Linked DNA regions of Homo sapiens: all the other regions are linked to region 3. The links are contacts of gene promoters, found by promoter capture Hi-C in human tissues and cell types (Jung and others, 2019). All regions are on one chromosome and are shown on one strand. The core of a region is centred on a gene start or on the middle of the fragment in contact, and the rest is flanking DNA. Distances in the headings are between cores, read along the strand shown. Region 1 overlaps LOC105375199 (a long non-coding RNA gene). Region 2 has its middle 31 kb from the start of MIR148A. Region 3 holds the start of NFE2L3 (NFE2 like bZIP transcription factor 3).

Evidence for each region. The method cuts DNA at HindIII sites, captures the fragments that hold promoters and counts their contacts. A contact is called where the count stands out against the background at its distance.
Region 1: a fragment that was not itself captured here is called in contact with the fragment with the promoter of NFE2L3 in region 3 in 1 of the 25 tissues and cell types used here (H1 embryonic stem cells).
Region 2: a contact is called between a fragment that was not itself captured here and the fragment with the promoter of NFE2L3 in region 3, in 1 of the 25 tissues and cell types used here (mesendoderm cells).

What each region holds. Positions count from the first base shown.
Region 1 is chr7:25,963,734-25,967,629 of GRCh38, forward strand. The region is part of intron 6 of LOC105375199 (a long non-coding RNA gene); the gene reads right to left. Among named protein-coding and RNA genes, the nearest start is that of MIR148A, 16 kb to the left of the region's middle. RefSeq lists an enhancer at 902-1,041. The HindIII fragment of the contact is 3,702 bases long and covers 1-3,225 here.
Region 2 is chr7:25,916,981-25,920,883 of GRCh38, forward strand. No RefSeq gene overlaps it. Among named protein-coding and RNA genes, the nearest start is that of MIR148A, 31 kb to the right of the region's middle. The HindIII fragment of the contact is 5,057 bases long and covers 1-3,903 here.
Region 3 is chr7:26,150,230-26,154,284 of GRCh38, forward strand. NFE2L3 (NFE2 like bZIP transcription factor 3) reads left to right here and starts at 1,969. Exons shown (of 4, transcript NM_004289.7): 1 at 1,969-2,839. The coding sequence starts at 2,270. RefSeq lists silencers at 1,758-2,137, 2,158-2,227, 2,238-2,307, 2,418-2,667, 2,678-2,747 and enhancers at 1,929-2,723, 2,724-3,517, 2,868-3,057. The HindIII fragment of the contact is 11,508 bases long and covers 1-4,055 here.

The sequences.
Region 1 (3,896 bases), core at 125-2,624, 190 kb before region 3:
GCCCAGCCTCTTTTTTTTTTTTTTTTTTTTTTTTTTTTTTAATTTTTAATGCTGATCAAACTCACTAAATTGGTTTCATGATTCACTAGTGGATTGAGGCCTACAGTTTGAGACTTACTGATCTATTTTAATCCTCATGTGTTATAGAGCAGGAAACCAAAGCCAAGAAGGTTAAGTGATCCGGCCAAGGTCACACACACAGTTACTGCCCGGTGGCAGAGCCAAGACTAAAACTCTGGTAGCAAAATCATCTAACTTAGCTAATTATTAATAATAAACACTCTTCTTGCAAAATGCTGTGCTAGTACTGTGAACAGTGCATGCTGTTACAAAAACATAGTTTTTTTTAATGGTAGAAAGTTAAAGTCTTTCAAATTAGAATTAAATAGAATGTCATTCCCCAAATCCCCGTATACATATTTTCAGTTTCAAATTCCAGTGTCTAGAGGGCTAAGTCCATATATATGTGTATATGTATATGTGTGTATGTGTGTGGATATGTATATATGTTTGTTTTAAATTACATCTGTAATTTGGCTCTAATGTGCAGGCTCATGTAAACTTCTCTTTACTGATGTTTCCAATGCAATAGAAAAAAAACCTGAGCAACCAGTCCTTCCAAAGATCTTTAGTTAAGCCTTCATGGTCAAAGAAGGGCAGTGAGCAGCTCTGGGATTCAAAGGGGCCTCTCAGTTACACAAGAGGGGACTCCACTGAGGTATGAATAAGAAGTGGGATGCATCGGACAGAAAAAGCCAAGTAGCAATAGTGTGAGGCTAGAACGTCCTCTGCAAACCTCAACCACATCACAGCCCATCATTCTTGGATGTCTCCCCATCAAATAACTACACCCATAGCAACTACAGTTGACTACAGTTGACTCTGACCTCACCACCCCTGTAAGAGTAATAATTCCAGTAAGAGAAGTTCGTCTTTAAAAATATAGCCCTAAATCTCGGCAACCAGCATACTTTCTTTCAATAAAAGCATGGGTGCTTTCCTGTTCCACCTATTTTTATCCTGTAGAAAAAAAAAAGTCCCTTCCAGCCAATGCAAATACTCTCTCACTCTCTGCCTCACCAGCAGCAAGGCGGGTTGCAAACCTGCACAGGATATAGAACTGAGGAGGCAGTGTGCCTGATTTTGCTGTCGTGTTATTCTTTTCATTGATATGGTACCTTTCCAGCGGTTCACATGTCAGCTGATGAAAGCAGCTGTGACCTTTTACAACAATTGGCCTCTGTCTTTACATTGGCTGTCTTTGCTTTACTGGGATTCATGAAGATCACCTTGGGGGCATCTTTCAACCCATTCCTGTGAAATGGCAACCGAACAGAAAATGGCACAAAGGGAAAGAGACAACATTTGTGGATACACTGAGGGATAGATATTGGTACTTTTAGTTTGTGAATGTAAAAATGTCACAGGTCATTTCTGAGCATATTCCAGCTGGAGGCAAGAAATGCTTTGGGGTAAACATATGAACCACATGTGCAGAAGCACTGAAAATTAGGTATAAAAGTCATATATGCAAAATTGCCACAAAACTTCCTGCTGTGATCATTTGGAAATCACCTTGGAGTATAGGTTTCTGGCTCATTTTCCAAGCTATGCAATTCCTTTCCAGAAACCCCTAGGCAGCACTGCCTCCCTCCCCTAGGTCCACCCTACCTCAGCAAAGCACAGTGAATGTCCTAATTCCTGGGACAGCTCCTTTTGGGGAAATAGGAAGAATAGATCAGAGGGTTTGATTATAAGCTTTAAAAATCAATTTTAAAAATTGATATAGTTCTGTGCTTTCTGAAGACGGATATCTTAAATAGTGCCTAACTATGTTTGTTTTGGCAGATACGTGGGTGACTCTCGCATTGGCAGACATCCATATCCGTATTTATGGCAAATATGTCAGCATTTAATCCATCCCAGTGTCTGTGAAGGAATCAACAATTACAAGTTATCGTCTCTCTCTTATTATATTGTTTTACTTCTTTTCAAAGACTGACACAGAAATTGCCATGAAATGGAGAATAATCAATCCTCAGTAGAAAATAGAATACCAAATCTTACAGCTCGGTAGATGGCTGGTCTATGTAATCTTTGTTTCATTTCTCAGCTCCTCTTTGAGTGACTCAGTGTAGCACCCCACAATTCAATATTAGCAAGGAGGTGTCATTTCACAGGAATGACTGCTATCATTGGGAGGGAAGGTCCATAAACTAGATTTCCTACTGATGACATCAGCAATTCTGTGACATTTAAAGAAAAAGAATTGAGTACCATTTCCAAAAGGGATGAGTACCTTTGAAGAAATAATATTACCCTTATTTTAACTTCCATGCTTCAGTTCATCCCTAACAGATAGGTGCACTGAGGAACCTGTATCTGTAATGTGAACAATATACCTCCTTTAATATCAGTCCCAGGTGAAATTAAACCAATCAGGAAGCGCATGACAATATCTCTGATATTAAGAGTCAAATGGTGTCTCAAAAACAACAATCTTTTGTGATTGTTGTTATTCCAGCGAATTGGCAATTTACAAATAGGTTGTGTCCAAAAAAAATTCACTAATATATTTGGAATATAGAGTGTCAAGTACAAGTTCCCATGTATGCAGTATTACAAATGGTATTCCCAAACCAGCCCATAGACACCCATTTCATTTATATCTTGCTGATGGTGTTGGAGAAGACAAAGAAATATGCAGGATTCAAAAGGTAGAGTTGGCTTTGGAAAGACAATCTGTGGCACAAGATCCCAAAACAATCTCCTTATAATTTCTACCACTTCCAGAAAGAAGGAAGGAAGGAGGAAAGAAAGGAGGAAGGGAGGGAGGGAGAGAGGGGAGCAAGAAGGGAAGGAGGGAAGGAGGCAAGAGAGGGAGGAAGGGAGGAAGGAAGGAAAAAAGAAAGAAAGGGAAGGAAGGGGGAGTGAGGGAGAGAGGGAAGGAGGATAGGAAGGATGGAGGAAGGAGAGAAGAACAAAGGGAAGAGTGGGAGGGAGGGAAGAGAGGGAGGGAAGAAGGAAGGAACAGAAGGAAGAAGAAAGGGATGGAGGTAGGTTGAGAAGGAGGAAAGAAAGACAAGAAGTCTCTAAGATGACCTCCAATTATCAACACCTCCTGGTATTCATACCCTTGTGTAGTGTCTTCTTGAATATGGGCTGGCCTTATTATTAACTTCACTTGTAGCAAATAGAATACAGAAAAAGAGATCAGATGCCACTTCCAAGATTGGGCTATAAAAAGGCAGTGGTTTCTGTCTCGGGCTTTCTCTCCCCTTCTCCCTTTCTATAACCGCTTGCCTTGGTGGAAGCTAGCTGCCACATCACAAGGGTGTCCTGCAGAGAGGCCACATAGCAAGGGGCTGAGGACCACCAAGCAAGTGATCTTGGGGATGAAGCCCCCTCACAAGTCATGCTTTCAGATAAGACCAAAACCCTTACCAACAGCTTGACTGCATGAGACAACTTGAGCCAGAGGTGCCCAGCTAGGCTGTGCCCAGATTCCTTACTTACAGGACCTGTGAGCTCTTAAATGCTTATTGCCTAGGTTTTAGAGTAATTTGTTATGCAGCAATAAATAACTAATTGGAAGGAAGGAAGGAAAAAGGGAGGGAACAAGGGAAGAAGAGAGGGAAGGAAGGGAAGAAGGCAGGAATAACCATGTCTGCCATAATCTAGCCAGGGAACAGAAACCACTCTGAGTATTTTGGTTGCTCAGGAGACAACAAAGCTGAGCAGTTACTAGGAGACGGTGACATAACCCAGAGATGAGCAGGGACAGGAAGCTATACTGCCCCTAAAGTGGAGGATCAAAGGAGGAAGCAGTGTTACCAGAAGCCAGAAGAAGCCAGGTCACCCTGCAGAAGCTGGAACCACAGGGGCCTGATTGGTAG
Region 2 (3,903 bases), core at 371-2,870, 230 kb before region 3:
CAAAGAAACAGGTAAAATTAATTTTAGAAATATATTTAGGTAATTCAATACCATATACCCAAAATGTTATGTAAACACAGAATCAATAAAAAAATTATTGAGATATTTTACATTCCTTTTTTCATACTAAGTCTTCAAAATTTAGTTGTGTTGTTTATACTTACAGAACACCTCAATTTGGAATAGGCACATTTCAAGTCCTTGATAACCACATACGGCCATAACTGACAGTGTAGGACTTTAATTCTATGTTTTAGAGTGAGGAAAAGAGCATTCTTTCTTTTCCCCCTCTTTTTTTAAGCTATGAATGAGGAAGCATATTGCCCCATGGCTGCTTACAGCCATCTTATGACCATGAAGTGATCCAGACTGGATCCTGGGTCCTTGATCACATAACTAAGCTTTGCTACTCCAGAGTCTGCCTGCCTCTGAACTCCCAGTGATAAGACATGATTCATTTCTCTATAGTTTAAGCCATTTTGAGTCTGATTTTCTGTTAAACGCATCAGAAAATGTGCTAATCTACATACCCCTCCCATCCGTATTGTAGCCACAAAGAAGTATTTCCAGCCCTTGTGATGAGTTTTCTTGTTATATCAAATAAGTAGACACCAGCCAAACACGTTTCTCACCCAGGCTACAAATTGAGAGAACCAGTGAAACTCTAAGTCTCCTATTTCCTTGAACAGTTACTACTGTCTTCACCTTTGTTTGAATCCTATGGCAGTGGATCTACTCTTAATGAAGTTAAGGCAGTACTTTATATTAGATATTTTAGAAGCAAAAGAGTAGACTGATTTCCTTTAAGTACTGTGTTTCAAACAAAATGATTAGGTCTTGGATATAGACCTAATCACAATGAAACAAAATTATTTGAGTCCAAAATACAATCAGTTAGTGAAAACTTGATGTGGTTATATAAACAGGAAAAGCCTCTCCAAAATCTCAGACGTGGGAAATGCATGGAACTCTGAAACTGAAATATGAGCAGTAGGCAAGTATCTAATGAGGGTCCCTTACCTGGGGTGGAATGTTGCCAACTGCTCACTGATTCTTCCTGTAAAGTTACCAGGATAAATGCATGTAGATGGCCCTATTTAGAAAGCTCTAAAGCACTTACATTAAAAACGAGGAAAGATCTCAAATCAACAACCCAAATTTGCACCCTAAGGAACTAGATAAAGGACTAACCTCAAAGTTAGCAGAAGGAAGATAATAATAAAGATTAGAGCAGAGATAAACAAAATAAAGAATAGAAAGCCAGTATAGAAAATCAACAAAACCAAGAGTTGGTGCTTTGAAAAATTCAACAAAATTGACAAAGCTTTAGCTAGATTGACTAAGAAAAAAAGGAAGTAATATTCATAACCAAAATCAGAAATGAAAGAGGGAACATTATAACTGATTTTACAGATATCAAAAGAATTATAAGAGAGTACTACAAACAATTGTGCAGCAACAAATTGGATAACTTATACGAAACGAATAAATTCCCAGAAGTACACAACTTATTGTACTGAATCAGGAAGGAACAGAAAATCTCTGTTTCTGAATCATGAAGAAACAGAAAATCTCAATAAACCCATAACTACTAAGGCAATTGAATCAGTAATGAAAAACCTCCCAACAAAGAAAAGCCTAGGCCCAGATGGCTTCACTGAGGAATTTCTACCAAATATTTAAAAAAGAAGTAACACCGGTCATTCTAAACTCTTCCAAAAAAATTGAATAGGGGAGAAAACATCCAAACTCATTCTATGAGGCCAGTATTACCTTGATACCAAAGCTAAACAAAGACACTCCAAAAAAAAACAAAAAACAAAAACAAAAAAAACTGCAAACCATTACCCCTAATAAACATTGGTACAAACAAATCTTCAACAAAATACCAGCAAAAAGAATTCAATAGCACATAAAAGGATTATACTAACATGGCTATATGGGATTTATTCCTGCAATGCAAGGATGGCTCAATGTATAAAAGTCAATCAATATAATATATCGCATTAACAGAATAAAGTAAAAAAAAAAAAACCTCATTATCTCAATTGATGCAGTAAAAGCATTTGACACATTTCAACACTTTTTAATGATAGAAACAGTCAACCAACTACAAATAAAAAATAACTACCTCAACATAATAAAAACCACATATGAAAATCGCATAGCTAAAATTGTACTCAATGGTGAAAGACTGAAGCTCTTTCTCTAAGATCAGAAAGAAGACAAGGATGCCCACTATTGTCACTTCTATTCTATACTGGAAGTCTTAGCCAGAGAAATTAGGCAAGAAAAAATATATAAATAAAAAGCATCTAAATTAGAAAGGAAGAAGTGAAGTTATCTCTGTTTATAGATGACATAATCTGATATTTAGAAAACCCTAAAGATTCCACCAAAAGAGTCAGTTAGAAAAGTGAAGTTTTAGGATACAAAATCAATGAACAAAACTCAGCTAGATTTCTATACACTAACAATGAACAATTAGAAAAGGAAATTAAGAAAATAATTCCATTTATGATAGTATCAAAAATAATAAAATACTTAGGAATAAGCTTATCCAAGGAGGCAAAATACTTGTACACTGAAAACTACAAAACATTGCTGAAAGAAGACACCAATGAATGGAAAGGCATCCTGTGTTCACAGATCAGAAGAGTTAACACTATTAAGATATCAGTACTATTAAAAGTAATCTATAGATTCAATACAATCCCTATCAAAATCCTAATGACATTTTTTTTAGAAATAGAAAAATCCCTCCTAAAATTTATATGGAATTTCAAGGGACACCAAATAGCCAAAACAATTTTGAAAATGAAGAACAAAGTTGGAGTTCTCACACTTCCTGATTTCAAAACGTAATACACACCTATAGTAATAACAACTATATTATGAGTGAGGTATTGGTATAATGACAGACATATAGACCAATGGAATAAGATAAACGGCCCAAAAATAAACCTTCACATATATAGTTGAATGATTTTTGACAAGAGCCCCAAGATCATTCAATGGGAAAAGGGAAGTCTTTTCAACAAACAGTGTTGGTAAAACTGTATACTCACATGCAAAAGAATGAAGTTGGACTCTTACCTTATACCATGAACAAAAATTAACTAAAAATGGATCAAAGACCTAAATGTAAGAACTAAAACTATAAAACTCTTAGAATAAAACACAGGGAAGAAGCATGATGACATTGGATTTATCAATGATTTCTTGAATATGATGCAAAAAACACAGGCAAAAAAAAGAAAATAATAGAAAAATCAAACTCCATCAAATTAAAAAACTTCTGTGTATTAAATGATAGAATCAAAAGAGTGAAAAGACACCACAGGAAATGGGGAAAAAATATTTGCAAATCATGCATCTGATAAAGGGCTAATATTCTGAATACATAAAGAACTCCTACAACTCACAACTCAACAACAAGAAGCCCAACAACCTCATTTAAAAATGAGTGAAGGACTTGAATAGATATTTCTCCAAAGAAGATATAAAAATGGCCAATAAACAATGAAAAGATGCTCAACATCACTAATTGCTAGTGATGTTTGTGTCTTCCCAAAACTCATACATTAAAATTTGAATCCCCAAGGTAATTATATTAGGAGGTGGGCCTTTTGGGGGAGCCGATTAGGTCATGAAGGCAGAGCCCTAATGAATAAAATCAGTGCCCCTTATAAAATAGGCCCAAGGCAGCTCTTAAATCCCTCCCATCATGTGAGGACACAGTGAAAGGCACTGTCTATGAGAAAGTGTGCCTTCATCAGATACCAAACATGGCTGCTTGATCTTGGACTTCCAAGCCTCCAGAACTGTGAGAAACAAATTTCTCTTGGTTATAAGCTACCCAGTGTACAGTATTATGTTATAGTAGCCCAAATGGACTAAGAC
Region 3 (4,055 bases), core at 719-3,218:
GAGTTAAGCCATGCTTTTGAAGTGTATAGTCTGAAAGATATTTAACACTATGATTACCAATTCACATTGTAAAATGGTGAGGGGTTAGCCCACTTCCCAACAAATGTTAGAAGTTTGTATGTGCTTCCTGTTCCCAGTCTATTCAGATTTCTCAAAATACATCTCAAGTGTAACCTCCTCAATTCAACTAATATTTTTTTTGAGCATCAACTGTGTGTAAGATTCTGGAGGGCACCGCCTTGAAGAAGGCACCGCCTCTACTCTCAATAGTTTTAGAGCTCCCTATATAAACCTTGAAGTAATTTACATCTAAGTATTTTGGCAATTGAGTACATTATTTCTCTTGTTTCTTAGTGTCTCACAAATTTTTATCTCATCTCCCTAGTAAAACCATAAGCTTACGGAAGGAAAGAACTCCGTTTCATATCCTTCATGCCTCCAGCACAGCCTCAGGCAGTTAGTAGGTTCTCAGTAAAAAGCTGAAGGCAGCATTTACTAAGCTGAGACTCTAAATCCGCTGTTCAAAGACTAAATGCTGTGAACGGGGTCTTGATAACCTGGCAATCACCTTTCTTCATCCTCTTTGCCACCCCAACCCATCTTCCAAGGCTTAACACAGAGGAAGCAACTTTCCTCTGCTCCCCTGTTTCTGCTCCCCTGGTCCCCATTCTTTTCTCTTCTTACTACACTAGCCCAGGAGAGAGATGAGAAAGCCAGGTGGAGGGAGGGGCCTTTTAAAACAAGTCTTGCTCAACTTTTTACACAACTGCCCATTCTCAGTTGGGCATCCCCTCCTGTCCCCTTTTCTTCCAAGGAAGGGAGCTAAGGTTAGTAAAACCTACCCTTGCAAGGCCCAGTGCTGGGTACTGTGCATGGACAAAGGTGAACCAAACAGGTTCCTTGTCCTCAAGAATTTACAATGGGCAAATCAGACCGATTCTCATCTACAACACAGAGTTGAATGGGCCAACTGTTACAATGTTGGCAAACGGAGAAATCACGGTGCAACAGATGGGGGAGAGATTAATGCCAACTGGTGAAAATTCAGAGGATGTAGCTTTGGAGCTAAGCCTTGAGGGTGAGTAACACAAACAATGGGTAGCAGGGAGCACTTCCTACCCATGCAGTGCTGTGGTCGGTGGTTTACATGCATTATCTCATTTGGGGCTCACAAAAGGTCTGCTGGGGAGGTGCTATTATTAGTCTCATTTTACAGTGAGAAAACTGAGGCACAGAGAAAAGGAGAGATTTGTCCAAGGTCGCCCCTCAAGTGGAGGGGGGACTTGAACTCACTCAGGGTAACTGTAGAGCTGGTGCTGTCAACCCTCAAGGAAACAACGGATAAGGAGCAAAGGATACCGAGAGGAGGTCTAGCACTATGCAGAGCACGCCCAGAGAAGAGAGAGGGGTCTGTGAGGCTGGGACTGGGGTGTGCGGAGTGGTGGGATGACTGATCCCAATGGCAACGGTGGAATTTATATGTGAAACTCCGAACTTTACACGAAATATTTCATCTGACCTCAACACATCCCTGTTTGACAGGCTCTATGATCCCCATTTTACAGATAGCGGAACTGAGACAGAGAGGTTACTCTTGCCCACTCTGCCCGCCAAGTGTCCTCACGTTGGGGTGGAAGCCCGTTGCAAGCTGCCAGGCCCCTCGTAGCTGCCCAGTCACTCTCCGCCCAGTCTACACATCCTGTCCCTTCCCACCCAGCTACCCACCACCTAGCCCTCCACCCCAACTCCCGCCCTTGGCTTTCAGCAAGGATGGCCCAGCTCACGGCCACAGGGTGGCAAGGGGCCACTTGGTGCCCAGAACAACTTCTGCTCCCAGAAAGCCTTGCGTTCCCCGGACATAAAGAGGCTTTGAGCTCGGGGAGCCCCGCCCCGTGCGGCCCCTCCCACGGGCGCGGGCCCCGGGCGGCAGGGGGCGTGTTCCTGTCGGCTGCGCCCGCGGCCGGGGGCGGAGCTTGGCCACCGCGCCGGGCTGCGGGCGGCTGGGCGAACGGGCTCGGCGCTCAGGTGGCTCCTTCTTCGCTTCTCCCGATCCCCGGCGGTGCCAGGCACGGTGCCGGCTGCCGAGGGAACGCCTTTGTGCCCGGTGCTGGGAACCCGCGACGGCCGCCACGCGCCCCGGTCCATTGTTTCGCTTATCTGGGTTCCAGGCAGGTGCGGGCGGCGCGCGGGGTCCGCACGTGTCACCCCGGCGGCTGGGGCGCCGGGACCCGCGGGCGCCGGCAGGGGCGTTCCCGGGCGCGCGGCGGCGATGAAGCACCTGAAGCGGTGGTGGTCGGCCGGCGGCGGCCTCCTGCACCTCACCCTCCTGCTGAGCTTGGCGGGGCTCCGCGTAGACCTAGATCTTTACCTGCTGCTGCCGCCGCCCACCCTGCTGCAGGACGAGCTGCTGTTCCTGGGCGGCCCGGCCAGCTCCGCCTACGCGCTCAGCCCCTTCTCGGCCTCGGGAGGGTGGGGGCGCGCGGGCCACTTGCACCCCAAGGGCCGGGAGCTGGACCCTGCCGCGCCGCCCGAGGGCCAGCTGCTCCGGGAGGTGCGCGCGCTCGGGGTCCCCTTCGTCCCTCGCACCAGCGTGGATGCATGGCTGGTGCACAGCGTGGCTGCCGGGAGCGCGGACGAGGCCCACGGGCTGCTCGGCGCCGCCGCCGCCTCGTCCACCGGAGGAGCCGGCGCCAGCGTGGACGGCGGCAGCCAGGCTGTGCAGGGGGGCGGCGGGGACCCCCGAGCGGCTCGGAGTGGCCCCTTGGACGCCGGGGAAGAGGAGAAGGCACCCGCGGAACCGACGGCTCAGGTGCCGGACGCTGGCGGATGTGCGAGCGAGGTAGGTGCAGAGCGGGAAGCGAGCGAAGTGCGGCGTCTACGCCGCCGGGAGCCCCCGAGGCTTGTGTCGGATCTGAGCAGGGGCCACTCTCGCTGTGTCCTGGCACCCTTAGCCCCTGGTCTTTGCAGGTTCGCAGATGCTGCTGCTCTGATTCCGAATGAAGGGCTACTAGTGCTGTCGCTGTGGTTTTTAGGTGTTTAAGGAAGAAGTGGACGAAATCATCCGTTTGGTTATAGAGAATACCTTTCCTTGTGTGTGATGGCTGGCAAGAGTAGTTCGGGGATGGGGAGGGGAGAAGCAATGCCCACTGTCTTCGCTCAGTACCTCATGTACACTGGGGTGTCGTTCTCTGGGACCCGTGCCCGACCTGGACGATGTGAAGGAGGCCGTGACCTCTGGGAGGATGCATGTTTTTAAGAACGACTCTCCCGGCCTAACGCAAGGACCTTCGCCCTGTTTTCAGCCCAATTGCTGTTCGTTTTTGCTGCTTCCCTGGATTAAGGAGCCATGGTCAGGGTCTATTCAGAGGCCAGCCGGCAGGCGGTCCCCCTGTGACCTAACCATCCCCTGCACCTAGCAATCCTCCTTCCTGGAATTTGTGTAACCTCTTATTAGCATAACGAAAACAGGTACCTTGGCAGTCACTTAGTGACTAACAAGTTCCCTTTGGTTTATGGGTCCAAACCCTTCTCTGGCTTAACTTCTTTCTGAAACCAAGTTTACCAAGATCTGTTGCTTGAAACATCTGGTGCTCCCCATGGAACGTTTGAGTTCAGTCTAATGACACTTTAACACCAGTTTCCACAAAACCACTTTACCCAAAGTTCCTTCCAGGGGACTTTTAAAATTCTGTCTTGGCTCAAACTTTAGTGTTTGCAACTGGTAACGATCAACCAGTGGTGATCAACTAATGTTCTTCGGGTGTTGTTTTTGTGGGGCGCATTCTTATGCAAAATGGGAATTGGGGCTAAACTGGTTTGTTTGTTGCTCTTCAGAATTGCCGTTTGTGTAGGCTGTTGCCAGACAAGCTTCTCCACCCTCCTGGAGGGGTCATTGTGTGGAAGTGCTCGGTGATTCACTGTTATGCTGATCTGAGCCCTTCCTCTTCCTGGGGACCGGAACCAATGGGGTGGGGGCCAGTGAGAGTCTTGGAGGGATCCTTCTGTGTTCAGGATATACTGTGGGAGGTTCTTCCCCACTCACTCATCCAATCTGG